Linked DNA regions of Homo sapiens: region 1 is linked to region 2. Evidence: promoter capture Hi-C in 16 types of primary human blood cells and fetal thymus (Javierre and others, 2016). All regions are on one chromosome and are shown on one strand. Each heading gives the region's core, a stretch centred on a gene start or on the middle of the fragment in contact. The rest is flanking DNA. Distances are from core to core; before and after follow the strand shown. Region 1 overlaps PCYT1A (phosphate cytidylyltransferase 1A, choline). Region 2 holds the start of LINC01063 (long intergenic non-protein coding RNA 1063).

Region 1 (5,810 bases), core at 21-2,520, 380 kb before region 2:
GAGGATCAGATACACTATGCTGAGGTTGAGGACCAGATACACTATGCTGAGGATCAGATACACCATGCTGAGGTTGAGGATCAGATACACTATGCTGAGGCTGAGGACCAGATACACCATGCTGAGGCTGAGGACCAGATACACTATGCTGAGGATCAGATACACTATGCTGAGGTTGAGGACCAGATACCCTATGCTGAGGCTGAGGACCAGATACACCATGCTGAGGCTGAGGACCAGATACACCATGCTGAGGCTGAGGACCAGATACACCATGCTGAGGCTGAGGACCAGATACACCATGCTGAGGCTGAGGATCAGATACACCATGCTGAGGCTGAGGACCAGATACACCATGCTGAGGCTGAGGATCACATACACCATGCTGAGGCTGAGGACCAGATACACCATGCTGAGGCTGAGGACCAGATACACCATGCTGAGGCTGAGGACCAGATACACCATGCTGAGGTTGAGGACCAGATACACCATGCTGAGGTTGAGGATCAGATACACTATGCTGAGGCTGAGGACCAGATACACTATGCTGAGGCTGAGGATCAGATACACCATGCTGAGGTTGAGGATCAGATACATCTCCTTCCTGTCTTCAGGGCAATGAATGAAGGAGAAGGAAAGTAGTTCTCAGGAGGTTTATGAATTTTTGTTTTCAAAAAGCTTTACTCATAAATAAGTAGATTTTAAACCAAGAAATCATACACTGCTGAAAGGAGTATCAGCAACTTTCAAGAAGGGCAATTAGGTCGTATCTATCAAAAGACAAACGACAAATGCTTATAGCTGTGGCCCAGCTTTTCTAATTCTGGGAATTATCTCACAGTAAATATAGATGTTATTCATTGCAGTACTGTTTATAATAGCAACAGTCAGGAAACGACCTACATTTCAACGGAAGATTGAATATAGCATAATACACCCACTAAAAGGTGGGAGGATATATAAACAATTTACTTAGATATTCACAGAAATGGGTAATATTGGTGGCCTGTTATAGGGATACCAGGTGGCTGTGAGACAGGTCTTGAGAGGGAGACATTTTACTTTATGCCCTTTTTGTATTTTATGGATATTAAACTGTGGGAATGTATTGATTTCACTTGATTTGATTTTTTGAGACAGGGTCTGGCTCTGTCACCCTGGCTGGAGTGCAGTGGCATGGTCTCAGATCACTGAAACCTCCACCTCCCAGGCTCAAATGATCCTCCCGCCTCAGCCTCCCGAGAAGCTGGGACTACAGCGCACACCACCACGCCCCGCTGACTACAGCGCACCCCGCCACGCCCCGCAGACTACAGCGCACCCCGCCACGCCCCACTGGCTACAGTGCACACCGCCACGCCCCACTGGCTACAGCGCACACCACTACGCTCAGCTGATTTTTGTATTTTTTGTACAGATGGGGTTTCACATGTTGCCCAAGCTAGTTGTATTTTTATTTATTTATTTATTTGAGATGGAGTCTTGCTCTGTTGCCCAGGCTGGAGTGTGGTGACATGATCTAGGCTCACTGCAACCTCTGCCTCCTGGGTTCAAGTGACTATCCTGCCTCAGCCTCCCAAGTCACTGGGATTACAGGCGAAAGCCACCAAGCCGGGATAATTTTTGTATTTTTATATTCGTATCCCATGTTGGCCAGGCTGGTCTCAATTTCCTGACCTCAAGTGATCTGCCCGCCTTGGCCTCCCGAAGTTCTGGGATTACGGGCGTGAGCCACCATGCCCAGCCCAGGCTGGTTGTATTGATTTTATAATACAGGAAATAAAAATTTTAAATTAAATATACCAATCCAATGAAAAACTAAGAATTAATTAATGGATTTAAGAGTCAGAAAGGTCATAGCTCAAGCTTTGACCAAGCTTTCCAACCAGCTTTCTTCCTCTGTAACCTTAACTTCCTTATGCCTCAGTTTTCTCATCTATGAGAGAAAGCAGGCTGGGTACAGTAGCTCACACCTGTAATTCCAGCACCTTGGGAGACCAAGGTAGGAGGACTGCTTGAGCCCAGGAGTCTGAGACCAGCCTGGGCAACACAGTGAAACCCTATCTCTATTAAAATTATTTTTTACTGCCAGCATGTGTCAACTAAAAAAAAAGAAGAAAAAAATATTTTTAAAAAGATAATTTTTAATAAGACAAAGCAAAATAAAACAAAATTTGAGCATATAATCCCCCTTCTATGTCCCAGAAATCACTGCATTGGCTCTATGCCTATTAAAAAATAATACATTAAAAAGATTTTTGGGCCGGGCACAGTGGCTCACGCCTGTAATCCCAGCACTTTGGGAGGCCAAGGCAGGTGGATCACCTGAGGTCAGCAGTTGAGGCCAGCCTGGCCAACATGGTGAAACCCTGTGTCTACTAAAAATACAAAAATTAGCTGGGTATGGTGGTGGGCGCCTGTAATCCCAGCTACTCGGGAGGCTGAGGCAGGAGAATCTCTTGAACCCAGGAGGCAGAGGTTGCAGTGAGCTGAGATCGCGCCACTGCACTCCAGCCTGCGAGACAGAGCAAGACTCTGTCTCAAAAAAAAAAAAAATTGAAGTATCCCAGAAGTCACGTCCATGAAGTAACTAACATAGTTCCATTTTCCCTAAACAAGTCCAGAGGGGCTATGATCTCACACTATTCGATCCTGAAACACAAGGGATAGAATATACAAATGAAGACTACTTTGTTGTTTCTTTGCTACTAGACAGCATACAGCAGGGAAATTTTGCTCAAGAAACACATTGCCTGGATGGTGGCAATAGCACAGAATGCTGTTGATCAAGTGGCTGCTTGCAGCACAGCTAATCATCCTATGTTAGGCCAAGTAGATCACTGAACCTTTTCTCAGACCAATCCCAGATGCGCCTCTTGCTCTCTCCAGTGCTTCCCCAGCCTACCAACATCTCAACTGGCCACCATTCCATCCCAAGTCTTTGGCAAACCCAGGCTGATATATTAACCAAACGGCCAGAAGGGGTCACTGTTGAACTAGTCTGGGAAGAAAGCTAGCGTTAGCCATTCTTTTACCAAGTGGCTATTGGCCAGGATAAACACACCCCTGATTTAATGTATGTTATAGTATATATAATCATATTTATATAAATTATATACTTTTAATATAATTTTTCCTGTTTCTATTATATAATGTACTATATAATACATATTTAATATCATTTATATATTATGCATATATTACATATGTATATATGTTATATAGATAGATAGATAGATTTTTTTTTTTTGAGACGGAGTCTCACTCTGTCGCCCAGGCTAGAGTGCAGTGACGTGACCTAGGCTCACTGCAACCTCTGCCTCCCAGGCTCAAGTGATTCTCCTGTCTCAGCCTCCTGAATAGCTGGGATTACAGGTGTGTGCCACCACGCCTGGCTAATTTTTTATATTTTTAGTAGAGACGGGGTTTCACCATGTTAGCCAGGATGGTCTCGATCTCCTGACCTTATGATCCACCCACCTCAGCTTTCCAAAGTGCTGGGATTACAGGTGTGAGTCACTGTACCTGGCCTATATATATATTTTTTTAATTTTTATTTATGTATTTATTTATTTTTTAAGATAGGGTCTCTGTCACCCAGGCTGAAGTGCAGTGGTGCAATCATGACTTGCCGTGGTCTAGACCTCCTGGGCTCAAACAATCCTCTCACCTCAGCCTCCTGAGTGGCTGGGACTATAGATGCACACCACCACACCTGGCTAATTATTAAAATTTTTGTAGAGATGGGATCTCACTGTATTGCCCAGGCTGGCCTTGAATTCCTAGCCTCAAGCAATCCTTCTGCCTTGGCCTCCCAAAGTGCTGGGATTATAGGCATGAGCCACCACACTCAACCTCTGTATATTATTAACAGCAACTCCCTTTCATGCTCAAAACCGTCCTGATTTGGATGATAAATTATATGGTTTATGTGGGTTATGAATTATACGCTGCACCACTGGTGACTAAGTAACCATATGTCCTCCTTTAGGCAGAAGAAACCTGGGTTTCAGTTAATGATCTCTTTTGATAGATTTACTCTCCCAAATACCTACCACCGAAACATTCTGTTCCTAACATTTCCATTGCCCTTCACACTCTCCCTTTTCCTTCCTTTCTCTGAGTTAAACATATTGCTGATTTTTTTCATCTCCCAAAAGATTCCTAGAGCTGACCTTCTTGTCTCTCAAATCATATTTGTTTTTCTCTAAGTAGAGAATCTTCTCCTAGATTATACAACCTCCCTCGTAAAAACCTGGGGAGCAGGAGGGAGGTGTTGAAACTTCACTAGAGCAGGTGCATTCTTTATTGCTTTATTCCTTGTCCTGCACTGGCATGAATGCAGTTACCTACTTGGTGATTTAACATAAAACAGTCAGACAAAATGAGATCTAAGAGAAAAACCAGAGTTCAAATTAAGCTGGCAAATTTATAGGCTAATTTGTGGCTGTTTGTTCCACCAAAAATACAATTATTTTGCTGAAGGCCTTCTATTCTAATGCTTACAATGAGTAGCACCATTCCCGGGTGAGGTTTGAGCTGCAATTCTATTCCACTAATCATCCGTTTTACTGTAGGGGAAGCCTTCGCTTCTTGGTTACTATGGACCTTAATTGCTTTATGTACTTAATGAAGAAACTATAAAGTAGATAATCTTGAAAATGACTTATTTGTAAAATCCTATAATTCTAAAATTAAAAACAATTATACCAGTCAGGACTTGTTAATTATAAGCTTTAAAACTTGGAAACAGGCCCGGCACGGTGGCTCACTCCTGTAATCCCAGCTACTTGGGAGGCTGAGATTTGAGAACTGCTTGAACCCAGAAGGGAAATGTTGCAGTGAGCTGAGATCACACCACCGCACTCCAGCCTGGTTGACAAGCGAGACTCTGTCTCAAAAACAAAACAAAACAAAAGATCAACTTGGAAACAGTACACATATTTTCAAATTTTATGTACCACAAATGATATATAGACAAATTAGCAACAAACTGGATAATGCAACCCATCAGATCAAATCTAAATGAATAGCTGATTGTAAATGTGTGTCATTAGAGAGTATGTAAAAAGTTCTTGCTTTCAATAGCCTCTACTATCACATCTGAATGTGAACCCTGAACTATCTTCTGGCGTTTTGAAGTTAGACCTGGCTACCATTACACAATCCATAGTCTCTGGTTTTCTTTGTCATTTTACCCTGCCTCCAGGAGCCTACCTATTACCCAAATAAGGGAAGCCAAACTCAAAAATCTTATCATGAATCAGAAGGTTGTGATCAATATGAACTATATCTACACATTTTTTCAAAAGGAAAGGATTCTCTGGAATTAGCCTCTTTTTTGTTGAGGACCCCAAACCCACAATACATATACCCAAGATAAGGCCAAAGGATAGGTGTTAAAATTCCCGGCATTGGCCGGCGCGGTGGCTCACGCCTGCAATCCCAGCACTTTGGGAGGCTGAGGTGGGTGGATCACGAGGTCAGGAGTTCGAGGCCAGCCTGGCCAACATGGTGAAACCCCGTCTCTACTAAAAATACAAAAATTAGCCAGGCGTGGTGGTGCACACCTGTAATCCCAGCTACTCGGGAGGCTGGGGCAGAAGAATTGCTTGAACCCGGGAGGAGGAGGTTGCACTGAGCCAAGATTGTGCCACTGCATGCCAGCCTGGGCAACAGAGTGAGACTCTGCCTCAAAAGAAAAAAAAATTTCCCAGTATGACACTGTACATCACTTCTATTTGTTTTTTGTTTGTTTGTTTTGAGACAGGGTCTCGCTCTGTCACCCAGGCTGGAGTACAGTGGCATGA
Region 2 (5,504 bases), core at 572-3,071:
AATCATGAATGATGCTGTTCTGAACATTCATGTTCGGGTGTTAGTATAGCATGGCTTCAGGTGTTAGTATAGCATGTCTTCAGGTGTTTGTATAGCATGTCTTCATTTCTTTTAGGTCCCTAGGAATGGAATTTGTGAGCCACCTGATAACTCCATGCTTTTACCTTTTGAGGAGCTGCCAGACTCCTTTCCAAAGTTTCTGCACCATCTTACATTCCCACCAGCAGTGTATGAGGGTCGCAGTTTCTCCACATACTTGTTTTATTTGACCTTTTGATGCTAGGCATCCTAGTGCATATAAAGTGATATGTCATTGTAGTTTTTGTTTTTGGGGTTTTTTTAGACAGGGTTTCACTCCCGTCACCCAGGCTGGAGTGCAATGGCACAATCTCGGCTCACTGCAACCTCTGCCTCCTGGGTTCAAGTGAGTCTCCTGCCTCAGCCTCCTGAGTAGCTGGGATTACAGGCACAGGCCACTGTGCCCGGCTAATTTTTGTATTTTTTTGTAGAGACGGGGTTTCACCATGTTGGTCAGGCTGGGTTTGAACTCCTGGGCTCAAGCGATCCACCTGCCTCAGCCTCCCAAAGCGCTGGGATTACAGGTGTGAGCCACAGCGCCTGGCCTCTCATTGCAGTTTTGATTTGCATTTCCCTGATGACAAATGATATCAAGCATCTTTTCACATGATTACTGGCCATTTGTATACCTTCTGTGGAAATGTGGTAACACCCTTTGCTGATTTTAAAATAGGGTTATTTGTTTATTATTGAGTTGAAATAATTCCTTCTTTTGAGTGTCAGTGACTGAGGTTCGCTGTGACACAGAGGGGTTCTCCTGGAGAGCTATGGCACATGCTCCATATTAAAAGGCAACATGATGCTGTCAGGAAGAACACAAAAGCAATTATAAAAACGTGTTAGTACATATTTATGCATCTTTTTTCTTACTCTCTCTTTGCTATCTATTCTCACAGCTCTAAATATGAATTATTTCTCTAGGTAGAGGCCAAGCATGAGTCAGCTTCTCCCAAGAATCAGTTGCCTGGGCTTCGAGACAGTTTTCTGCCGTATTTTGGGTAATTGTAGTTGCCAGGAGTCTGACTTCTGAGGGTGTCAGGTGCCATTTGCCGTTAAGTGGAGATAGTAGGTTGAACAGGGTGGGACTAATTGGGGCCAGTTTTGAGGAGGTGAATCTTTAGTGAAATCGCCAAGAACACAGTGGTGAGGACCTGGCAGAGAGGAGGAGATTCCAAGGCTGGGGGAATTGGGTAGTGGCGTCTGGGCACTGGGTCCTGTAGAAGGGAATTGGCGAGATGAATGAGCAGGGCTTCACAGGTGTGACTGATCTTGGTAAAGACGGTGAGAAGCCGTGACCAGGCAGGGTGTGCATGGGAGCAGTGAAAGGTCTAAAATTCAGCCTTTGAGCTCAGTGCTAGGTTCATGCTAGTAATTGGTTCCGATAGGTTAAGCTTCCTCTGGTTTGCCGGTGTGAGAAGAAAGAAAAACCTACTCCTCCCTGTTTCCGCCTCACCAGCTTCCCTTCTCTGCCAGCCCCACCCTGCCCCCGGCCCGTGTGGCTAAACTGCCCAACTGCCGATTAAAACCCGCACCTCCCAACATACCTCGCACCACCCAGAGGCCCCGGTCCCCGCCATTCATTCCGCTCCCGGCCGGGAGTCGCTCTAGCCAATCACCTTCCAGGCTCAGGGCGGCCGAGGCAGGGCCTCTGCCTCTTCGGGGGGCCTCTCCCTCCCCCTGCCCCTGATTGTGGCTGAACTGCCACCGCTTGATAGCAAACCACACTCGGCACAGGAAGGAGAACAGCGCCCGCGGCCCCGGGCCTCCATGAAATCAGCAAGGGCGCGCTCCTCCCACCGCCGCGCTGCTGAGCCTCCCGCCTTTCCTTCCGGTCGCTCGCGCCTCGAGAGGCGCCGCAGGGAGCCCTCTGCCGGTCCCGCCCTTCGCTGTTAGCGCTTAGGATCTGGTGCCTTTTCACGTGGGGGCGGGTGGGCGGGAGGCGAGTCTGGGGTCTTCGGGCCGGGCCTCCGCTCTCTGGCAGTTTGCACCTTGCTCCACTCACTGGCCTGCGGTCTGTGTTCACTCCTCCTCCTCTCCCACGTCTCAGGAACCTGCAGCTGGCCCCCGAGCCCGCGCCCTCCCGGTTCTAGGAATTCACCACTTTCTTGCCTTTGTTTGGGTATCTTTTGTTTGGAGCCAGAGCCGGCTCCAAGGAGGAGCTGCCGGAGGGTGCTAGGCTTTTTGCAGAGGAAGTGAGGAGCAGAGTGATAGGGCGTGAAGTCAGAGGGAGCAGAGAAGGGGCCGAATCCAGCGGGGCCCGGATCATGCAGGGCCCGGAGCCTGTGGTGAGGACTCCGGGATTTATATTCACCAATTATGAGAAAGGACTTCTCGGCCGGGCGCGGTGGCTCACACCTGTAATCCCAGCACTTTGGGAGGCTGAGGCCGGCGGATCGCCTAAGGTCAGGAGTTCGGGACCACCCTGGACAACATGGTGAAACTTTGTCTCTACTAAAAATACAAAAATTAGCCAGGCGTGGTGGTACATGCCTGCAATCCCAGATACTTGGGAGGCTGAGGCAGGAGAATCGCTTGAACCCAGGAGGCGGAGGTTGCCGTGAGCCGAGATCGTGCCACTGTACTCCAGCCTGGGCAACAAGAGCGAAACTCCGTCAAAAAAAAAAAGAAGAAGAAGAAGAAGAAGAAAAGAAAAAAGCAAAGAAAGAAAAGAAAGAGGACTTATCAATGACCACAAATGACTAAGTCCTCAACCTCTCCAACAGCTCTAGAGCAAATGACACTTTAGCCTGTGCTGAGCCCCTACAAGGTGCTAGACCAAGTATTCTTGGGGATATATACAAATGTGAACAAGCCAGAGACCCTGCCTGGCAGGACTCACTGTCCAGGGGGAAGGCAAAACTGCAAAGATGAGCTGGGACGCCCCATGGGAAACGCTGGACAGAGTCAGCCACAAAGCCATCCCCTTGCAGCCTCCTCCTTGGCATGGCCTTATTTTCCTTGTTGGATCCCTAGTGTCCTACCCCATGCCAGGTCCCACCCCAGGAGGGTCCAGTTCACACTTCCAGAAAGTTTGGGCTGCACTGTCCCAGCGGCTGTGCCCTTCGTGCTCTCCCGCTCCCAGGACTCTCCCAGCACCGCGTGCCCATTTTCCCCAAGGTCCTTTCGGCCCTGGACCAGACCATGGTTAGTTATGGGTGCCCCTTCCCCTCGCTGTCCCACTCCACGCCCTGGCACTGATAGGACACTTCCATGTTATCTTTGCACCACCTGGACTCTTTGATCATATGTTGATACTGTCGGTGTTTCAGGACAGGAAGAGGCAGTGTCCCCACAGAGGTCAGTCACCGGAGTCAGTGGCTGCGGGAGGCCATGGGCAGCAGGGAGCTAGAGGAGCTGATCTCAGGATTGGAGACCGCCACCTCCTCCAGGAGGAGAAACACGCGGGGAAGAGCCCCCAGCCCCACCCCACCCCCGCACTGCCTTCAGCCTCTGCATTGACCCCTCCGCTTTTCCAGGATGGGCATCATGAGGCGTTGAGTGGTACCAATGTGGGCGGTGGGCTCTCCTCTTTCCGGTTTTAATTCTTGGTTCTTAAAAACTCCGTTCCAAATGAGGGAAATGAAACTACTGAACACTCTCCCCCAGCAGCCAGCTGACGTGGGGCAAGAGAACAATTCCCAGTTAAGGCCCCAAAGGAAATCCCCTCCCTGCCATGTGCTGAGGCTGGAGAAGTGGGGGCTGGAGAACTGGAGAAGTGGGGGCTAGGAGAAGTGGAGGCTGGAGAAGTCGGGGCTAGGAGAACTGGGGGCTGGAGAACTGGGGGCTGGAAAGGGGGGGCTGGGAGAAGTGGGGGCTGGAGAACTGGGGTCTGGAGAAGTGGGGGCTGAAGAAGTGGAGGCTGGAGAAGTGGGGACTGGGAGAAGTGGGGGCTAGAGAAGTGGGGGCTGGGAGAAGTGGGGACTGGGAGAAGTGGGGGCTAGAGAAGTGGGGGCTGGGAGAAGTGGGGTCTGGAGAAGTGGGGGCTAGAGAAGTGGAGGCTGGAGAAGTGGGGGCTGGAGAAGTGGGGGCTGGGAGAAGTTGGGGAGGCTCTATCTAGCTCACTGCTCCGCCACCAAGGTGAAGGGCCTGTCTGTGGCCAGCGGCTGAGAGCCCACAGCACAGCGGAGAACCCCAGAGGCAGGAGCAAGAGGACCATGATTTTGCCCGGGGTGAGCCGCCAGTTCCAGGTCCCCATGGCTCCACTGCTAGGTGCAATCCCTGTGCTCCTCTCTCACAGACCTGTCTGGAGTGGGGAGCAGCCCTGGCTCCTCCCATGGCTCCCTTGCACACCGAGTTGTGTCCCCTCTCACAGGCCAGCTGTAGCCCCCTCCCCTGGTCTTGAATAGGTTGCCATCTGGAAAAGCAGTCAGGGGTCGGGGTGGAGGGCAGAAGCCAAGGCTCCCTTTGATCTCCTTGGGAGGCTGAGAAGTCCCACAAGTGACAAACTCTTATGAAGCTTAGTTTAAGAAAGAAAAGAGATCCCCACACCCTCAGAGGGCAACAGCTAGAGAATTATACAAAGTGGGTTGACCGCCATCATTCCTTCCTTCCCTCTCTTCGTTTCTTTCCTCCTTCTTTCTTTTTTGTGGAGATGGAGTTTCGCTCTTATTGCCCAGGCTGGAGTGTAATGGCACGATCTCAGCTCACTGCAACTGCCACCTCCCGGGTTCCAGCAATTCTCCTGCCTCAACCTCCTGAGTAGTTGGGACTACAGGAATGCACCACCACGCCCAGCTAATTTTTTGTATTTTTAGTAGAGATGGGGTTTCACTATGTTGGCCAGGATGGTCTTGAATGCCTGACCTCAGGTGATCCACCCACCTTGGCCTCCCAAAGTGCTGGGATGACAGGCGTGAGCCACTGCGCCCGGCCTCCTCCTCCTTTCTTTGAGCAAATAGTCACCAAGCCCCTTTATGTGCATAAGATAGTATATTTTTTGGAATAACACATGACCCTGCCTCCAAAAGTTTGTAGTGGGCCAGGCATGGTGGCTCACGCCTGTAATCCCAGCACTTTGGGAGGCTGAAGCGGGCGGATCACCTGAGGTCAGGAGTTCAAGACCAGCCTGGCCAACATGGTGAAACCCCGTCTCTACTAAAAATACAAAAAATTAGCTGGAAGTGGTGGCGGGCGCCTGTAATCTCAGCTACTTGGGAGGCTGAGGCAGGAGAATTGCTTGAACCCAGGAGGCGGAGGTTGCAGTGAGCCGAGATGGCACCATTGCACTCCAGCCTGGGCAACGGGAGTGAAACTCTGTCTCAAAAGAAAAAAAAAGTCTGTAGTGTAGTTGTGGAAAAAAGGCAGAAGTCCAAAAAATTAAATCACAACACAAGAGATGTCATGAGGTCGGTGGATTATGGGAACGCTGGCACCATGTGTTCACAGGACAAGGTGGCAATTGCAGTGGGGAAGGCTTCATGGAGGAG

The links. Contacts are between HindIII fragments. The CHiCAGO score rates a contact against its expected background, and 5 or more counts as called.
Region 1: a contact is called between a fragment that was not itself captured here and the fragment with the promoter of LINC01063 in region 2, in 3 of 17 cell types (naive CD4 T cells, fetal thymus and naive CD8 T cells). The highest score is 6.5, in naive CD4 T cells.

The regions. Positions count from the first base shown.
Region 1 is chr3:196,250,795-196,256,604 of GRCh38, forward strand. All of the region lies in intron 3 of PCYT1A (phosphate cytidylyltransferase 1A, choline), which reads right to left. Among named protein-coding and RNA genes, the nearest start is that of PCYT1A, 34 kb to the right of the region's middle. The HindIII fragment of the contact is 1,188 bases long and covers 677-1,864 here.
Region 2 is chr3:196,630,766-196,636,269 of GRCh38, forward strand. LINC01063 (long intergenic non-protein coding RNA 1063) reads right to left here and starts at 1,822. Exons shown (of 2, transcript NR_132101.1): 1 at 1,623-1,822; 2 at 739-880. RefSeq lists enhancers at 1,490-2,244, 4,305-4,842 and a silencer at 1,634-1,713. The HindIII fragment of the contact is 3,065 bases long and covers 1,468-4,532 here.